Linked DNA regions of Homo sapiens: regions 1 and 3 are each linked to region 2. Evidence: promoter capture Hi-C in 16 types of primary human blood cells and fetal thymus (Javierre and others, 2016). All regions are on one chromosome and are shown on one strand. Each heading gives the region's core, a stretch centred on a gene start or on the middle of the fragment in contact. The rest is flanking DNA. Distances are from core to core; before and after follow the strand shown. Region 1 has its middle 4.9 kb from the start of MAP2K3. Region 2 holds the start of WSB1 (WD repeat and SOCS box containing 1). Region 3 overlaps USP22 (ubiquitin specific peptidase 22).

Region 1 (2,700 bases), core at 4-2,503, 6.0 Mb before region 2:
AGTTGCTTCATCTCTGTGTCTGCAGTACTTCTCACCCATCATGGGGCAATAAGAACAGCCCTGTGGTCTTGGCATCTAGATAATGAAGCACAGGATTGAACTAAAAAGGCTGACACACAGTAGGCTGTTACAGTGATGGTCTGGGTTAAAAATCTGGTGTCATCCTTCCTGGTGGTGGAACCTGGGCAAGCGCTTGAAGCCTTGGGCTTCTGTTTCTTCATCTGTAAGATGAAAGTCTAACCACACCCACTTCCCTGGGATGTGTGTCAAGTCACGAGGCCTGGCATGCAACAGGTGCCAGTAAGTGTTGTCCCCTTGACTGCCTCCTGCCTGCTGGGCAGGAAGTGCTAAGTTTGAGAACCCTGGGCAGGGAGACACCATGCTGAGGCTCCTTGGACCCCTGGACTGGTGTTGGGGACAGCCACAGGGTTGTTCGTGCAACCCTGCAGGGAACCGGGCAGGCCAGACTCAACTGCTCTGTTAGAAGCAGAGCTGGTGGCTTTCCAGAAAGCAGTGAAGGGAGCTCAAGGGGAGTTTGTTTTGCTCGGAAGCAGGGTGTTGCAAAACACTTTAGTGGAAGTGTGGGCAGGAAAAGGCAGGGAAAACTATCTCCATCTGACAGAACAGATTTCAAACAATAGCTCTGCCATTACCAGCGGTATTGGATGCTTCTGGGCACCTCTCTGAGCCTCGATTTTCTCATCTCTTTAGTGGAGATGATGATAATACTAGACACCTCGTTGGGACATTGAAAACTTTCCTCCACTCCGCAAGTATTCACTGAGCACCTACTGTGTGCCGGAGACACTGCAGTGACCAAAGCAAAGGCATTGCCCCCGTGCAGCTTGCATCACAGTGAGTCCATAAGATGCTGTGCTTGGAGGGACTAGCACATAGTAGGAGCTGTAAAAATAGGACTTGCTGTTTTGCTAGTGGAGCCAGTCACTTGTGTGAATTCATCTTTTGATATTTGAGAGTGATGATGATTTAAAGAAAGCAGGTGAGCCTCCGTTGAGGTTTCCTTCTCTATATTTCGACTTCAGAACCGGCCCCTGAGTAAAAGATGCTCAGGAACCACATATTGCTGCCTCCAAGCTTCTCAAGTTTTCACTTTTCCACCATCACCAGCATGGCCTGATGCTGTTCTGGGGAGAACCAGTCACAGGCCCTGCTTTCAAGCAGCAGGAGTCGTATGGGAGAGGCAGACAGGGGCGCAGCCACTGACAGGGCGGGTGAGCCATGGTGAGAGGGGCTGGGGCAGGGGCACTGGGCAGAGCAGTGTCAGGCAGGGCCTCCTGTCCCACCTTCAGAATTGGGCCTCGAAGGAGCGGAGGGAATGTGTCAGGTCGGAAGGTAGGGAAGGGCATTCCTGGCTAAGGGAACAGCCTTTGCAAAGAAAGGTTCAAAGAGGAAAGCTTGAATTCAGAGTGGCTGGACTGGGGGATGTCTGGAGAAGTCACCAGGGGTTGGAGTGTTGGAAGTTGCCCGCCTAGGGAGCCAGGGCAGGACTTAGAACTTGGCCAGCCGTGTTTGGGAAGGCTCTGGCTGCAGTGTGGAAGGCCTGGGGGCAGGCAGCACAGAGAAGAGGAGGCTGGATGGCCGTCAAAGCAGTGAGGGCAGTGGATCCTGTGCTCCTGGGCACTCTAGAGCACTGCCGGGCCCTGGTCACCAGAGGGCGCTGTGGGGCAGCAAGCAGTGGAGGCCCCAGCTGGTGGCAAGGCTATGCATAGACCATGTGCACCGCTGTGCCTGTGGGTTGTGTCTGTGGACGTGACCATGTGGTCCCTCCACATGAACGTACACACTTGTGCACCCCCTTGTGTCATGTGTGTGTGCATGTGTATTTGGGGTGTGTGGACTTGCACAGGTGTGAAGGGGCACGTGGGAGTGAGTACGTCCAAGGGGGTGTATATAGGTGAGAACAGGGACTCCTCAGCTCCCACCACCCAGCCACATCGGTCTCCTTGTTACTCGCCTACAAGCCATCCACCTCAGGGCCCTTGCACAACTGTTCCCTCTGCCTGGAATGCTTTTCCCCCGGATCTCTTTGTGGGTCCTTCCGTTAAGTCCTTTGGTCTCTGTTTATGTGGCACCTTCCAGGGAGGCTTTTCCTGACCTCCCTCCTTAAAATTATAGCCCCCATGTCCAGACACACACCCTGTCCCCTCCCCTACTTTCCCCCATAGCATTTGTAATAATTTTTTGTTTTTTGAGACAGGGTCTTGTTGCCCGCCAGGCTGGAGTGCAGTGGTATAACCTTGGCTCACTGCAGCCTTGACCTCCTGGGTTCAAGTGATCCTCCCACCTCAGCCTCCTGAGCAGCATGCCACCATACCCAGCCAACTTTTTTTTTTTTTTTTTTTTGTAGAGACGAGGTTTTGCCATGTTGCCCAGGCTGGTCTCAAACTGCTGGGCTCAAACGATCCACCTGCCTCGGCCTCCCAAACTGCTGGGACTATAAGTGTGAGCCACCATGCCTGGCCTGACATAATTTGACTTAGGCATTTTGCTTGTCTGGCTCACACACCAGGTCATACCTCCCCAGGGAGTTGTGTCCATCTTGTTCAATGTTGTGTTCTCAGTGCCAGTCACACAGTAAGTGCTCAATGAATATCTGTTGAATGAATGAAGGAGCTGCCCACATCCTGGGTTTGGGTCAGCCTCTCTCTTTTTTTTCCCCCATCATCAGTATTTATTGAG
Region 2 (2,700 bases), core at 176-2,675:
AACCCGGGAGGCAGAGGTTGCAGTGAGCCGAGTTGGCGCCACTGCACTCTGCTCTGGGAGACAGAGCAAGACTCCGTCTCAAAAAAAAAAATAAATAAATAACCAAAAAAAAAAAAAAGGAGGGGCGATGTTTTATTAAACATTTCGCTATTTGAAGAATTAATACACTCATGCAAAGAAAAGATGAAGTAAACATGCCCTACAGTGTTATCATTTGAGATCTCTTAAAAGCGGCTATGCAGCCGGGCGTGGTGGCTCACGTTGTAATCCCAGCACTTTGGGAGGCTGAGGCGGGCGGATCACTCGAGGCCAGGAGTTCGAGACTAGCCTGGCCAACAGGGTGAAACGCCCTCTGTACTAAAAATACAAAAATTACCCGGGCTTGGTGTCACATGCCTGTACAAATCCCAGCTACTGGGGAGGCTGAGGCAGGAGAATTGCCTGAACCCGGGAAACGGAGGTTGCAGTGAGCCAAGATCACGCCATTGCACCCCAGCCTGGGAGAAGCGAGACTCCGTCTCAAAAAAAAAAAAAAAAAAAAAAAAAAAAGCGGCTATGCAACACTCTACTCTGTCCCATGAATATCTGCCACATATTTGAATTCCCAGTCTTATACGCCCCAGGCCTTTGCAATGTTTAGGGTCCACACGAGAAGCCATTAAAATGCAAATACGTCATCTGTGACCGGGAACCAAGCTGGCATCTAGCAGATACTGACACATTTATCAGTCTGATGTGTGGACAACTAGGTGCCTCCCAGAGGCCTTCAGGTAAGGTGGAGGAAGGGCCAATTCTGAGCTGACACAGTGGGATCCATCTTGGCCAGGACAGTGGGATCCATCTTGGCCAGGACAAAGGCAGTCCAGAGAGGCCCCGCGGCGCGGTGCGGCGCGATCACGCCCGAGTCTCCTTCTCGTTCCCCTCGGCCCTTCCTAAAACCTGCTGGCTCAGGTCTGAACAATCGCAGCTGGACAGGTGGTGCACAACGATGTTAATTTTCATCCTGTCTTTTTCATCAGTGCATCCTTCAGTTCCCTATTACTTGTGGGCTGGGGAGTTGGCCAAATTGAGTGAAAACCTGAAATGTCTTTTTGTTCTTTTGGTTCAGCCAGTTTAAGTTCCATGCAATCTTTAAGCTAGGAGGCTAATAATAATACAATTCTCTGCTTGCCCTTTTCAAAGCCACTTCAGCTTATAAACTCCATATTAGACCATCCAGGCCCAGAAGACGCCACCGGCCTACAGGCAGAGTCAGCGGAACCAGCCTGGGCTGGATCTCCCCCTGCGAGGCCCCCAGGCAACGCCCGCGCCGGGCCGGGGAGATCACGTCCCGTGCGTCGGGAGGCGGGGGCCTCGGGCTGTGACGTCACGTGGCCGCGCCCCTGCCGCCCAGATATCTCCGGCGCCGCCCGCCATTTTGACTCCAGTGTCTCGTTTGCAGTCGGCGCTTTAGGGGAACTGTCTTCCTCCGCAGGCGCGAGGCTGGGTACAGGGTCTATTGTCTGTGGTTGACTCCGTACTTTGGTCTGAGGCCTTCGGGAGCTTTCCCGAGGCAGTTAGCAGAAGCCGCAGCGGCCGCCCCCGCCCGTCTCCTCTGTCCCTGGGCCCGGGAGGGACCAACTTGGCGTCACGCCCCTCAGCGGTCGCCACTCTCTTCTCTGTTGTTGGGTCCGCATCGTATTCCCGGAATCAGACGGTGCCCCATAGATGGCCAGCTTTCCCCCGAGGGTCAACGAGAAAGAGATCGGTGAGGATTGGGACCGTGGGTGGGCGCATGAGGGCCGAGGAGAGGCAGGGACTCCCCGGAGGAGGTTTGGGAGGAAGCGACTCCAAGTCTGAGGGAAGAGCTCCAGTGCGCCAGGGCCAGCCCACTAGCGAGGAGGAGGAAGCCGCCTCGGTGGGAGTTGGCTGAGGGGTAAACGGCACCGACGTGGATGCAGCACCTACTGTGCTCCCTCGCGGTTGCTGTGTGGCTGGGGCGGGCAAGGACCCCGGTTTCTTCGTCGGAGGTCCGCGCAGGGCTCTTGTCCTGGGAGTTCTTGGCTCAGGGCATGACTGTCGAGTGGACAGGGAAGGGCCACTCAGGGACTTTAGGTTTACAATGGGGAAAAGTAAACTTGTGGGTTGTAAGCGGTAATGAAAGGAGGGGGTCCTCGTGTGTACCAACCACTCTTAGATAGAAATGAGATGGAAGAGGTCCCAACAGCCTGGCAAAAGCAATACAGTATTTTTAAAATGGTGTGGCCTTAAGAAACGCAGCGGTTCGGGGGAGGAGACTTTTAGAATTATCTTTCAAACACTTAAGGGAGGAGCTGGGTGGTTGGGTGGAGTGACAGAAGGAAAGCTTTTGTGCGGAAGAGGAAACTCTGGAAAAGGCTTTTCTGGCTTAGTGTCTAGCCCTGGTCGGCTTAGTAAAGGGCAATTAGTGTTGAAGGTTGTGCGTCCACACCTACTTAGTGGCTCAGTGGAAAGCACGTCGCATTATTTAAATCCTCTTTTAAAGTAAAATAACTGGAACAACGTTTGACGGTGTTGGGGGGTGCTGTACATTGGCTGATAACACTTAGCAAACACTGATCTTACTGTGTGAAGTAATAATTAGCTGCGGCCGCTGAGCAGAGAGCATTTACATTTTCCTACTCTTGAAGTGAATGTGTGCCTTTACTAAGTACAAGGAGGAGTTATTTCTAGAGAAGGGAA
Region 3 (2,700 bases), core at 14-2,513, 6.3 Mb before region 2:
GTGAGAGACAGACCCTGTCTCAAAAAAAAAAAAAATACATAAAAAATAAAAAATTTAAAAAAGTGTTTTGAGGACACAGTGCCATAAAATTTTAGATTCAAAGAGAGAAATGGTTTTAAAAACATTACCTGTTCTCCAAAGTGTCTATATTCAAAATATAATGTAGAATGTTAAATCATAATCACTTCCTGCCAGTTCCTATCTTTACAGACAAACCCTGAAATGGTAAGAAATTTGTTATATTTAACACACACCAAAAACACAAAGGAGACGCCACTGTGGTCGTGCCAGTCCTAAATCATGGAAATAGTTTTTTTCTTTTTTTTTGAGACGGTCTCGCTCTGTCGCCCAGGCTGGAGTGCAGTGGTGCGATCTCGGCTCACTGCAACCTCCGCCTCCCTGGTTCAAGCGATTCTCCTGCCCCAGCCTCACGAGTAGCTGGGATTACAGGCGCGTGCCACCATGCCCAGCTAATTTTGTGTATTTTTAGTAAAGACATGGTTTCACCGTGTTAGCCAGGATGGTCTCGATCTCCTGACCTCGTGATCCGCCCGCCTCGGCCTCCCAACGTGCTGGGATTACAGGCGTGAGCCACCATGCCCGGCAGAAATATTTTTATAGTCTGCAATACAAGAGTTTTATGGCAATTCGGGCCAGGCGCGGTGGCTCATGCCTGTAATCCCAGCACTTTGGGAGGCCAAGATGGGCGGATCACCTGAGGTTGGGAGTTCGAGACCAGTCTGACCAACATGAAGAAACCCCATCTCTACGAAAAATACAAAATTAGCCAGGCATGGTGGCGCATGCCTGTAATCCCAGCTACTTGGGAGAATCACTTAAACCCTGGAGGGGGAGGCTGTGGTGAGCCGAGATCACGCCATTGCCCTCCAGCCTGGGCAAAAAGAGTGAAAACCCCATCTCAAAAAACAGAGTTTTACTGCAATTCAAGCTTCTTTTGGACAGAAATTTATCAAGCCTGGTCATGTTTTTGTCATGTTCTGCCTGTTAAAAGAAGAATCAAAGTTTGGGTACAAAATGCATAATCCATCTGTCCTTAGATAACAAAACTCGTAATTCCTATTCATTCAGGGATTCATTTCTTTAAACTGTACCTGAGATGTCCATCTCAAAAAGTACCTTTGTTTGTTTACAAAGATTATAATTCAAGTTGAAGTTTGTTTTGAGATAGGTTTTGTTGTCCAGGCTGGAGTACAGTGGCACAATCATCAGCTTAAAGTACTTTTACAGTCAAGTTCATATCATTAAAACCAAAAATATGGCTGGGCTCAGTGGCTCTGGCCTGTAATCCCAGCACTCTGGGAGACAGGAGGATGGCTTGAGTCCAGGAGTTCAAGACCAGCCTGTGCAATATAGTGAGACACTGTCTCTACAAATATTAGCCGGTCGTGGTGACACACGCCCGTAGTCCCAGCTACTCAGGAGAGGCTGGAGTCCAGGAATCTGAGGCTGCAGTGATCACTGACCAGACCATTGCACTCCATCCTGGGTAACAGAGCAAGACTCTGTCTCTACAAAAAATAATTTTTAATAAAATAAAATTTAAAAAACAAAATGTCCTAAGCTTACAGATCTGATGGAAATCCTATGCAGATTGTCCAACTGTTAATCATCAGGTTTGTTAAACTATTTCCCAAACCAACTCTTCCTTAACTGGGCCACTAGAGAGTGCTAGAAATGCAGGACACCGCACATGAAGTGATACAGGTAAATAAGTCCCCCCAGTCAGAGGAAAAAGCATGGAGGGCTTAAGGGCTCCTTGCTGGCACACTGCCAACTGGCACTGCAGCAGCCCCCACCTAAATTTTGAAAGAAATATTTTTCACTACCCGACTACAGTTCAACTTCTAATTGGTGAATAACATACATGTGGCTCAACAGTTTTGAAACTAAGCAACTGACATCTGAAATTAAAAGATTAATCAGAGCCATAAGTAGCGCAAAAAAAAAAAGTAATTCTTAACTTTAGGAAATTAGGCAAAGTTAGTTAATGATGGTTTAAACTTGACTCCTTCTATTTGGTTAAAAAATACCAGAGGGGGGAAGAAAGGGAGAGGGAGGGAGGGAACGGAAAAAGAAAAGGAGGGAGAGGAAGAGTGGGGCGGTCCCCACTTCATCCAAAGTAGTAACAAATCTTGGGCGCGTCACGTCCCAATCCGGACACTACTGACCCAGAGTAGCAACAGCACATTCCCTGTAGAAGACTGGCTTCAACCAGGCCACCCTTTTTTTTTTTTTTCCGGAGGGGGTCTTGCTCTGTCACCCAGTCTGGAGTACAGTGGCGCGATCACTGCTCACTGCAACCTCCGCCTCCCGGGTTGAAGTGATTCTCCTGCCTCAACCTCTGGAGTAGCTGGGATTACAGGCGCCCGCCATCACACCCGGCTACTTTTCGTATTTTTAGTAGAGATGAGGTTTCACCATGTTGGCCAGGCTGGTCTCGAACTCCTGACCTCGTGATCTGCCCCCCTCGGCCTCCCCACGTGCTGGGATTACAGGCGTCAGCCACCGCGCCAAGCCAGGCCATCTTTTCTTAAAGACACACAATTCTACTAGCAAGACTCTAACTCCGATCCTGAAACGTTTTATGTCTGATTTTAGTTCATCCAGACATAACGCTACCTGATACCATTACAGATAAAAAAAATTTTGAGGCCGGGCACGGTGGCTCATGCCTGTAAT

Evidence for each region. Contacts are between HindIII fragments. The CHiCAGO score rates a contact against its expected background, and 5 or more counts as called.
Region 1: a fragment that was not itself captured here is called in contact with the fragment with the promoter of WSB1 in region 2 in 1 of 17 cell types (fetal thymus); the score reaches 6.0 in fetal thymus.
Region 3: a contact is called between a fragment that was not itself captured here and the fragment with the promoter of WSB1 in region 2, in 1 of 17 cell types (fetal thymus). The highest score is 8.0, in fetal thymus.

Annotation. Positions count from the first base shown.
Region 1 is chr17:21,278,507-21,281,206 of GRCh38, forward strand. No RefSeq gene overlaps it. Among named protein-coding and RNA genes, the nearest start is that of MAP2K3, 4.9 kb to the right of the region's middle. RefSeq lists an enhancer at 1,501-1,580. The HindIII fragment of the contact is 320 bases long and covers 1,094-1,413 here.
Region 2 is chr17:27,292,689-27,295,388 of GRCh38, forward strand. It overlaps WSB1 (WD repeat and SOCS box containing 1), which reads left to right and starts at 1,426. Exons shown (of 9, transcript NM_015626.10): 1 at 1,426-1,747. The coding sequence starts at 1,708. MIR4522 (microRNA 4522) reads right to left here and starts at 1,308; the gene lies at 1,222-1,308. RefSeq lists enhancers at 1,155-1,204, 1,575-1,634, 1,645-1,704 and a silencer at 1,245-1,454. The HindIII fragment of the contact is 5,795 bases long and covers 1-2,342 here.
Region 3 is chr17:21,038,645-21,041,344 of GRCh38, forward strand. The region is part of intron 1 of USP22 (ubiquitin specific peptidase 22); the gene reads right to left. Among named protein-coding and RNA genes, the nearest start is that of USP22, 3.0 kb to the right of the region's middle. The HindIII fragment of the contact is 633 bases long and covers 948-1,580 here.